Linked DNA regions of Homo sapiens: region 2 is linked to region 1. The links are contacts of gene promoters, found by promoter capture Hi-C in human tissues and cell types (Jung and others, 2019). All regions are on one chromosome and are shown on one strand. The core of a region is centred on a gene start or on the middle of the fragment in contact, and the rest is flanking DNA. Distances in the headings are between cores, read along the strand shown.

Region 1 (5,092 bases), core at 26-2,525:
AGCCCTGCCTGTGCCCGGCAACTCGCCAAAAGTAGCCGTTCCATTGACCTAAGTAGGGACCCACCAGTCCCGCAGGCCTAACCAGCCAAAGCTTCCTAGAGCCCCTCCTCTCAGAGTGGCTGAAGCCCATCAGCCAGAACATAGGCTCAGGTGCCCAGTCCTGGAGCGGCTTCCAGGGCGCGGAAGCTGCCCCCGGGGGCGCCCAGAGCCCGGGAACCAGCGCCGCCTATGAGCAGGTCTTCCTCCTCCTCATCCTCAAAGGCCCGCGCTGGGCGCCGGGGCGGAGGCCGGGGCGTGGGCTCGTCGCGCTCCGCCATGCGCTCGACGGCGCCCTCGCCCACGAGGAACACGGTGTCCGCGACGCGCGGGGGCCCGGTGACGGGGTTGTGGTCGTAGGAGAAGACGCGCAGCGCGCGCAGCGGGTGCAGGTCGGGGAAGCCGCCCAGGCGGTTGCGGTCGAGGTCGAGGATGTGCAGGCGGCCCATGCGCAGCAGCGCGGGCGGGAACTCCTCGAAGCGGTTGCCGTAGAGCCAGAGGCCGCGCAAGCCCGTCATGCGCGGCAGCTCGGCCGGCAGCGCGCGCAGCCGGTTGTCGCCCATCTGGAGCGACTGCAGCGCCACCAGGCGCAGCAGCGGCCGCGGGAAGCGCCGCAAGAAGTTGCCCTCGATCCAGAGGCAGCGCAGGCTCTGCAACTGCGCGAAGTCGGCGGGCAGCGCCAGCAGCCGGTTGCCGCCCAGATAGAGGCGCGTGAGGCGCGGCAGGCGGCACAGGCCGTCAGGCAGTCGCTCGAGCTTGTTGAAGTCCAGCGCCAGGATGCGCAGCTCGCGCAGCTCCTCGATCTCCTCCGGCAGCTCGCGCAGCCCCGTGCCGCTCACATACAGCTTCTGCAGGCGGCTCAGCGCGCACACTGCGCTGGGCAGCCGCCGCAACCGCCGCCCGCTCAGCTCCAGCTGCTGGTCGCCGCTGCGCAGCTGCTCCTCTGCGTCCGACGGCAGCTCATCCGGCGTGGACTCGGCGATGCCCATGGTCACGGGCCCCGGCCGGGGCCGCCGCCACTGCCACCGCCAGGCATCGCCCCGCCCCGGCCGCCCCCCAGCCGCCCCGACGGTGCCGGAGCCGCGCCGGCCCCCGGGCCCCCCGCCCCGGCCTTCCCCCGCGCCGGGAGGGGGGCCGTGCGGGGCCGGGAGGAGGCACCCACTTGGGGCACCGCCGCCGCGCGCCGCGCTCCACCGCCCGCCCTCGGGCCTCCCCCGTTGCCTCCGCCGGAGGCCGACTGGCTAGGGTTCGCGCTGACTCGCAGCTTAGCGACCCGTCGCCCTGGCAACCCCGACGCGCGTGCGGCTGCCAATGAGGCGGAGGGAGGGCGGGGCGGGGCGGGGCCAAGGCGCCACCCTAGTGGGGTCCCAGCGCCGGAGCCCGCCCCCTACCTGCCCATCCAGCCCACCGCGGAGCAAGCACAAGCCGAGAGATTCCCCGCCCCGGCCAAGCCTGGCACTGAGACCCGACGCCCGACGCTGTTTGGTGTGCGGTTGTGTGCGCCCCAGAGCCGCGGGTCCAAGAAGGCGAAGGAAACGCTGGCGGTGGATCAAAGACTCTGGACTAGAGGCTCACAAGGAGGGGCTGAGGGGCGCGGTCACTGCGAGCCATTCACGTCCAGCGGCGTGCGGCCGGCCTACCTGCTGGGATCACTTCAGTGTAGTAACTCGAAACAGTGTTACTGTCCGGCCCTTTTCACATCTGCTGGTTTTACCGGGCCCCAGGGCTTGGCTCCGCCCCGCCTAATTGCCCTACAGCTTCCTCATTGCTACACTCACACCCCTCTCTCCTGCCAGGATCCCTCCACCGACGCTCAAAGTCTGTGTGTGGCTGCGGTGGACAGAGGACTGGGACACGTGAACGCCTTTGAGCCACCAATCATGGCCACTCTCATTCCATGACTCTTCTTCCTTCGCCTGCTACCACCAGCAGCAGTTCCCCCCTGCCTTCTCCCCCCACCTCCCATCCGGAGCCCTCCTGCGGGAGCTCCTGGCAGAAAAGCACTGGCTGTCACTGGCTTCGAGCCCACGTGTGCCCAGCACTATGCTGAAAGCATTGCGTTGAGTCCTTGGCACAGCCTATGAGGTAGACACCCTCATCACCCCGATTTTAAAGATGGAGAAACTGAGGGTCAAAGAGACATGACTTGAGCTGGGTCAGTCTGAGCTGAGTGAAGTGCCCAAGGTCACCCAGCTGATGAGCAGCTGGATTCGAAGCCAGGTAGTGTGACTCCAGAGCCTGTGTTCCTAACCATAAACCATACCGATAGATGGAAACAAGGTTCACTCCACCTCCAGCAATGAATTTTCTCACAACAGAGCCTCTGATTCTCTGGACAAAGCTACAAAGACAGCACTATAATCCCACATGAAAGATGAGAGAAGTGGCCTCGCGGGGATTAGGCACCCTGCTTACGGTCACACAATGCATAGAGGTTGCAGCCCGGGAGCCAAATTTTCGGGCTCCAAGCCTCCTGCCTCCTGCCTTCTCTTGAACCCGGCTGGTGTGACCCATGTAACTGGCTGAGTGGACTGACTTCAGGAGAGCACGCTGCCCTTTGGCCCACCCCCATTGCCATCCCCACTGCAGGGGAAGGGGGATGGAAGACAGCCCAAGGGCAGAGAGCAGTTGCCAATGCAACGGGAGGAAGGGAACCATCCCCACTGGAAAGTAAGCTGCCCAGCCAGGGAGGTTTGGGCATCTCCTTCCCTGCTGGCACAGGCTCTAGAGCATACAGTAGACATTCCATGCAAATTTTTATTTATTTATTTATTTATTTATTTATTTATTTATTTATTTAGAGACAGAGTTTTGCTCTTGTTGCATAGGTTGGAGTGCAATGGCGTGATCTTGGCTCACTGCAACCTCCGCCTCGCCTCCTGGGTTCAAGCGATTCTCTTGCCTCAGCCTCCCAAGTAGCTGAGATTACAGGTGCCCACCACCACGCCCAGCTAATTTTTGTATTTTAGAAGAGACAGGGGTTCACCATGTTGGTCAGGCTGGTCTCGAACTCCTGATCTCAGGTGATCCACCTGCCTCAGCCTCCCAAAGTGCTGGAATTATAGGCATGAGCCACTGCGCCTTGCTGAAAAAAACTTAACAAAAAAAGTGGAGGCAAACATTGCATACAGTGAAATGCATAGATCGTAAGTGTCTTCTTGGATGCGTTTTGACAAATGTACACACCCCTGTCCCATTTCCATCAACCCAAGAGTTCTCTCAAGCCTCTTGCGGTCAATCCCCACCTCACAGAGGCAACTATGATCCTGACCTCTATCCTTATGGATCAGTTTTCCCTGTTCTTGAATTTCACACAAATGAAATTATTCAGCACATGCTTTTTTTCAGATAATATATATTTGTTGGATACATGAATGAAAGGACAGAGCAATAGCAATTCTAATATGGCAAGAGGTGTTAGGGGGCGGACAGATGATGGGGGGACACAGAGGCAGATGTTGCTCTGAGCCACGAACCAGCCATGCACCCCCATCCTGGGAGAGACTGGCAAAACGAAAGCAGGAATCCAGGCCAAGGTAGAGGACCCAGGTGGAACCCAGACACCAGACCTAGGGTATAGGAGTCTCAGCCCCAACCGGAGGGGCTTCAGGCTCCTCCCAGATGTCACTTAAGTTCCAATCCAGCTCTCTCCCTTCTACTCATTCGGGAGGACTTCTTGGAAGAGGTAAGTCTCTCAGAGACCAGAAAGGTAGGGAATACCCAGCCAGGCTAATGGGATGAGGATGAGTCCCTCCCCCCACCCCCAAGCAGTTTGAGGGAACATTGGCTGTGGAGGAGGAGGCTCAGCAGCCCAGCCTCGCCACATGCTCAGGCTGGCACCCAGCGCCAGGCTGCCCTCTTGGGCTCCATCAGCACAGGCAGCACCACATGAGCCCACATGAGCCTCTCCACCCCGGCACCAGCCTGGCAGAGCTTCCTGGGGCCGAGAGCATGGAGGACCAGCCCTCTTCTTTCTCAGAGTCTTTTTCTTGCTCTCGGCAGATCCTGTACCTTCACCTCCCACCAGGCCCTTCTCAGTGGGTAAAGGTAAAATGTGCTGGCGTTCCAGGCCCACGCAGGCTGGCAGTGGGGCAATCATCATGATGAATCACGCTGGCACTGCAGGCACCCGGTCCTTGTTGAGGCGTAACTAATGAATTAGCTTCACCCCCAGCACGGGGCCTCTCAGCCTTTCCCCACTTCCCAGGAAGGCAGGAAACTGAGACCTGGGAGGGGGAAGCAGGGGAGGAGAGAGGACTCTGTCAGCTCCAGGCATGGGTCCCAGACCCTGGCCAGCCCCTCTGCCCCCACACACACTGCAAAAACACCCAAAGTGCAGGTCCCCCAGGGCCCCAGAAACTGCCTCTCTGTTACTAATCATGAGCTATAACTATTAGTGCCCACCCCCAACTCTGTATTTTTTAAAGGATTTCTTAAAATATAGGAAAAGTGTGGCGCTGTGATAAACACCCCCATGCCCAGTACCCAGCATTGACAATTGTTCACATTTCATCAAACTTGCTTTAAACCTATTTTCTTTTAAATAAAAGGAAGAAAACGGCACACGTAATATACAAGTCTCCTTTGTCTCCCCTCCAATGTCCCCATAGGCACTACCGCCCCCTCCACACTGACCCTGCCAAAGTCCCCTCTGGATTCCCCTCCCTGCCTTGGGGCCAGGACCCCCCTGGCTGCTGAATAAGATGATGGGATCTTAGCATCCTAGGTTCTTAGAAAACAAGGATTCAAACCTATTAGAGCCAACTATACGATGTCAGAGCTGGAAGGGTGCTTAGCGCCTCTGGGAGGTCACAGGCTCTCTTCAATGTCTGCAAGAAGGTAGGGACCCTTGTTCCAGAAAAATGCATGGAGGCAGAGACTCACCCAATGATGTACGCAATTCCCAGGGGTTCATGGTCTCTTGGGTGTCTAGGCCAACCCATTCATTTGGCAAAAAAGGAAAGCGATGATGTCCTCACCTCATGGCCCACTCCCCTTTCCTGCATCAGCCAGAACTTCAGTTCCTGCCATCTTTCAGGTATTCATTCAACAAACC
Region 2 (5,092 bases), core at 1,760-4,259, 91 kb before region 1:
CCTGGTCTAGTGTTAGGGAGCTCTGTGTCTCACTCTGCTCCCTAGAGGGGGTGCAGGGGTCCAGGCTGGGGGCTCAGGAGGCTTGGGTCCTGATGGATGTTAAATGACTCATTTTCCCAACGCCTGAGACTCTAGGTCTCTCCATCTGCATGATGGAAGGACTGCCTGGCTCCCTCCCCACTTCTCCAGTCAACCAGACCTAGTGCCAGACAGTGTTTTTCCCATCTGAGGCCTGGGGCTCCTGTGTGTTGTGTGTTGGGGTGTGGGGTGCATTACAGGACACTTGAACTGCTGACTTCTATGGAGTGTGGACGGGGTGCAGTGGAAGGGGAAAGGGCAGAGGCACCACCTCCAGTACCTTTTGCCCCACCCAGCCCCAGGCTGCCTATCAATTTGGGGGTTCTCAATCCTCCTCTCCTGCTCCTGCTGGCTTTTGAGACTTGTTCTGCATGGCTGCCCCTTCCTAGAACTGGGAGGACCATCAGGATCCTTGGTAGTCATGAGAGCAGCTTACTGAGCACCCACCTTGAACCCTTAGAAGGCATTGTGCTGGCAGTCACAGCAATCCAGCTAGGTTGGCGCTATCATCCCACTTCCCAGATGAGAGACCTGAGGCACAAAGGGGTTACAGAAGGTCACACCATTAGCAAATGGCAGCTCTGGGGTATGAACCACAGTGCGTATGACTCTGGGTCTCCTCACAGAACTGCAGAACCACACGTAGCCCCAGTGTACAGTTGGAGATGGAAGACTCCCCTTCTAAAGAAGGAACACACTGAGACTGGAAAACCTGGCTGCCCCACATGACTCTGTGCCCACCTGGCATGCAGTAGACACTCAGCAATTGCTCAGGGCTCAAAGGGCTCATCAGGCAAACTGCTTAAATCGGAACTGCTCTGGTAGAAGCAAAGATGGGGTCCCATTGGCAAATTGCTCATAAACCTCTCTCCCAGCCTCTCATTTTCAGGTAATGAAATTGAAGTTGAAAGAGGGAAGGGACTCCCAGGGTCACTCATCAAGTTGGTGGCAGAGTCAAGACTAGAACTCATGTGGTGGGATGTCCCCAGGGGAGCAAGCCCGGAGAGGTCAGGAGCAGGTGGGAGGCTCTCTCCCCTCCCAGAGTGGGATGGGTCACGCCCCTGCCCCTTTCCTCAAGCTGAGCCAGAGAGACAGGGGAAGAGGCCTGGAGAGAGATGCGGCCTGGGCTGAGCCATCTGAGCACCCAATGGGCAAGTGCACTGGGCTCCATGGGCTCCCACCAGCCAGTGTCCTACATGGCCCTCTTGATGGCCTAGTCCAGGGACAGCCCGTGTGTGTGTAGTGCAGAGCCACCTCATTCCCCACTGTTGACACACCTGACTCCCTTATTCCATCGGCAAACACTAGGCCTGGAGAGACAGTCCAACTGGCTGGCAGTGTCCTCCTCCCAGCTCCCCTCCTTGCCTAAACAGACAGCTCTGTTTGTCCTCCCTGCCCAGCCACCAGGACTTCACTGTCACCCAGATCCCTGCCCTGTCAGCAGCTCGCCTCCTCTCACTCCCACAGAATCCCCGTGTCAGAGCTGGAGAGGCCCATGGGAAACTTTTAGGACAACCTCTAACCCCCTACTCAAGCAACACCACCTCCATCATTTTTTTTTTTTTTGAGACAGAGTCTCGCTCTGTTGCCCAGGTTAGAGTCCAGTGGAGTGATCTTGACTCACTGCAACCTCCACCTCCTGGGTTCAAGCGATTCTGCTGCCTCAGCCTCCCGAGTAACTGGGATTACAGGGGCATGTGCCACCACTCCCGGCTAATTTTTGTATTTTTAGTAGAGACGGGGTTTTGCCATGTTGGCCAGGCTGGTCTCGAACTCCTGACCTCAGGTGATCTGCCCGCCTCGGCCTCCCGACCTCAGGTGATCCACCCGCCTCGGCCTCCCAAAGTGCTGGGATTACTGGCATAAGCCACCATGCCTGGCTACCACCTCCACTTTTACAGATAAAAAAAACCAGAGGGGTGGCCAGAGCCATGTAGAACAGGAAGGCAGGCCTCGCATCCAACCACTCACTGCTGGGCGTGGCCTCTGTGTCCTGGCATGTGCTGTTTCTTCTGCTAGGACAGCCCTTCCTCGATGAAGCCTCAGCCCACTGAATGAATGACAACCTTGGCTGCACCTGCACGTCACCCGTGGCTGTCTCTATTGTGGCTCATGATGCCCAGCCCCCTTTCCATCACCCTACAAGCTTCTGAAGCCCCAGACTCAGGTTGGTTCATTGCAGAGCCCCCAGCTGTCAGCCCAAGGTGCCCAGGGAGAGATGCTGAAAAAGGCTTGGACATGAATGAATCAGTAGGCTTGAGCCAGAACAAATTCTCTCAATCCTGGCCCAGCTTGGACCCCCACATCCCAATCCCTGTTCTCCTAGGCCAAAGCTATTCTGAGAGGTCTTTCAGGCCCCTATTTCCAGATCCCAGTGGGCTTTGAAGACATGGTCTCCCTTGCTTCCCCTGGGCCTCGGCCCCGCCTGGGCAGAGCCTTCTCTCAGTTGTTGTGGGTGAATCACTGGCAGGCTGTAAACAGCTCTATGGAGCACTGGCTGTACCACCAAGGCCCTGGCACTCATCCTAGCCGCGCCAGGGGGATCTAAAAGAAGACATGGCTCCCACGCACCCACGATGGAAAGGAGAAGGTGGAATAGAAACAGGGGGGAGGCTTCCAGATTTGCATACCAACACGTGCACAGGAGTCTGTAATGCAGCCCAGCCTAGGAGGGGACAAAACAGAACCTGGAGAATGAGAAGGGGATGAATCAGAAACCCTTCCAAGAGGAAGGGACCTGCAGCGAGGAGGTTGGGTGGCTTCTGGGAGTTTAAAAACCACCAGTATTTACTGAGCACCTACTATGCAACAGGGACTGCTCCAGGGCTGCAGGTACTGCCATGAACAAAACAAAGACCCCATGCCGCGCAGGACAGAAAAGCAGAGCAGGGCCAGGGAGGGTGTGGGCAGCTGCCTTATGCATCATTCACAAGATTCTGAAGAAGGACGAGCTTGGAGACCTTTCCAGCCACTTAACAGATGGGGAAACTGAGGCCCAGAAAGGGCTGAGGAGTTGCCTGGAGTCGCACAGGAAGACGGGGCAGAGGCAGACCCCCAGGCCCTGTGGGTGGGCTCAGAGGTGAGGATGCCTCTTTGGACTTCAGAAAGGAGAGGCTTTGACCTTCAGTAAAGCCCTGAGCTCAGTCCCTCCCCATGTGGCCCAGGTGGGGACTCATTTCCAGGGTAGGTAGTTGGGGGCTGGCTCAGGGCAGGACCCCTCCCCTCCTGCCCCTCAGAGGAGGGATCCCAGGGCACTCAGAGAAACAGCAGAGGCTCGTGAGGAAAGCGAAAACAAGTCACTCAGCGGTGGGTTCCCCAGGGCTACGCCTCCTCCCCTCCCCGTCTGTAGATGGGCAGCTCTGACTCCGGGCTTTTGGCCTTTCCAAGACCAAAAATGTAGCTTCCTTTCCTCCCCCAGGAGCAGCCAGCTGGGGCCGCCAGTATGGTCTGGCGTCTGGAAACTCAGACTTCTTACAGCCCCACACCCCACCTACACCAGCCCCAGCGCAGAGCTTGATGTCTGCTGAGTGACTCGCTTTCTGTGGCTTCAACAGCCTCGGCCGCAGCAGGGACAGAGCGCGGGCACCGACTTTTCAGGCTGTCGCTCTGCTAAGTGAACATTAGACCCACATTACACAGCCGCTGAAATTTGTGGCTGCCTCCTACAAGCCATTTGATAAGCCCTTATTGTCACCTCCTCCTGGTTTGCGTGCATCCCCAGGGACTGGGGCAGCTTGTTCACTCAGAGCCAGGGCGCTGCCAGGGGGCAGAAGCGGGGCATGGGTGGCACAGAGCCCTGGCTGGGAGCTGTGGCCCACTTGTGTTGCCTTGAGCATGACGCTTGCCCTTTCTGGTTTCACCTGGAAATGGCTCTCCAGAACGTGACTCAGCTTCCCTGTTCAGCCGGCCCCCTCACTGGTCCATTCCTAGGCACAGTCCTGGGCTCTGGATAAAGCAGCCTCTTCTGAGGTCACTAAACCAGCCCCCAGCCCTAAACCTGCCCCAAACAATTTGTCATACCAAGACTCTTGGACCTCTTCCCAGAGCTTCCCAGTATCCCTACTCCAAAGCTATCTTTCCCTTCTCTAAGCTCACCTCGCCTTGTCCAGGCTCTGTCCAGAAGGCGTCCTGGGCCATTGCACAGGTGGGTACTGCAGGGGGGTGGGGGCCTCCTTTACATTGGACCCCCCTGCACAGGACTGACAAATAGTTGATCTTTATAGATGCCCATTCAGTCACTCACCAATTCAACAAACAGCTCTTTGGGCCAGCTTTGTATTCAGCTCCACACTGGGTCTGGGGATAGATATTAGAGGCTGACAAGGCACAGCCTTACCCTCAAAGAGCTCCCTGTCTGAGGAGGAGAAATACGACAAAGCAGGTGATTCATGCCCTAATGGGGGAAACCCTGGGAGCAGTGGGAGCACACAGCAGTGCTACCTAATCCTGGGGAAATAAGGGAAGGCTTCCTGGAAGAGGCAACATCTAAACTGAGACTTGAAGAACGAGTAAGAGTTAGCCAGATAGGGGAAGCAGTTCCAGAAAGTGGGAGCACCCAGGCAGAGTTCTGGAGTCTGGAGACAGCACATAGATTCTGGGAACTCGCAGGAGTCAGGCTGGCCTCTTTTCTTCTTCTATTGACTGCCTTTTCCCCACCCCACTAAGAAAGGAGGACAGATAGTTATCTCCCACTGGGTGGGCTTCCCAGACCCCTATTCCTGCCGGAAGAGGCCCGATAACTCCCAGATGGCTGGTCACTTACCACATGCACCTAACCTGCCCGTCACTTCTCTGCTCTGAGCCTCAGCCTCATCTGTCAAATGGGGTGGGGCACTTATGCTCCTATGTCATTCTTACGAGAGACCTGGAGGAGAGAAGAGAAGGCCCAGCCCTTCCCTTGCCTCGCTAGGGGTGCAGCCCGGATTGGGCCTGGGTCTGCAGGGGGAAGTGGGGTGGGGGAGACACTGAATGCTATTGCCCACCAATCTGAGCCCAGGCCAGCCGCAGACCCCTG

What was found. The method cuts DNA at HindIII sites, captures the fragments that hold promoters and counts their contacts. A contact is called where the count stands out against the background at its distance.
Region 2: a contact is called between a fragment that was not itself captured here and the fragment with the promoter of LRRC10B in region 1, in 2 of the 25 tissues and cell types used here (H1 embryonic stem cells and mesenchymal stem cells).

What each region holds. Positions count from the first base shown.
Region 1 is chr11:61,504,932-61,510,023 of GRCh38, reverse strand. It overlaps LRRC10B (leucine rich repeat containing 10B), which reads right to left and starts at 1,275. Exons shown (of 1, transcript NM_001145077.2): 1 at 1-1,275. The coding sequence starts at 1,025. The coding sequence ends at 147. It overlaps MIR4488 (microRNA 4488), which reads right to left and starts at 1,428; the gene lies at 1,367-1,428. LOC105369329 (a long non-coding RNA gene) reads right to left here. Exons shown (of 3, transcript NR_188527.1): 3 at 3,375-4,262. The HindIII fragment of the contact is 12,437 bases long and covers 1-5,092 here.
Region 2 is chr11:61,598,035-61,603,126 of GRCh38, reverse strand. It overlaps LOC101927495 (a long non-coding RNA gene), which reads right to left. Exons shown (of 4, transcript NR_110189.1): 3 at 526-609. Among named protein-coding and RNA genes, the nearest start is that of SYT7, 20 kb to the right of the region's middle. RefSeq lists enhancers at 1,765-2,432, 3,101-3,768. The HindIII fragment of the contact is 6,468 bases long and covers 1-5,092 here.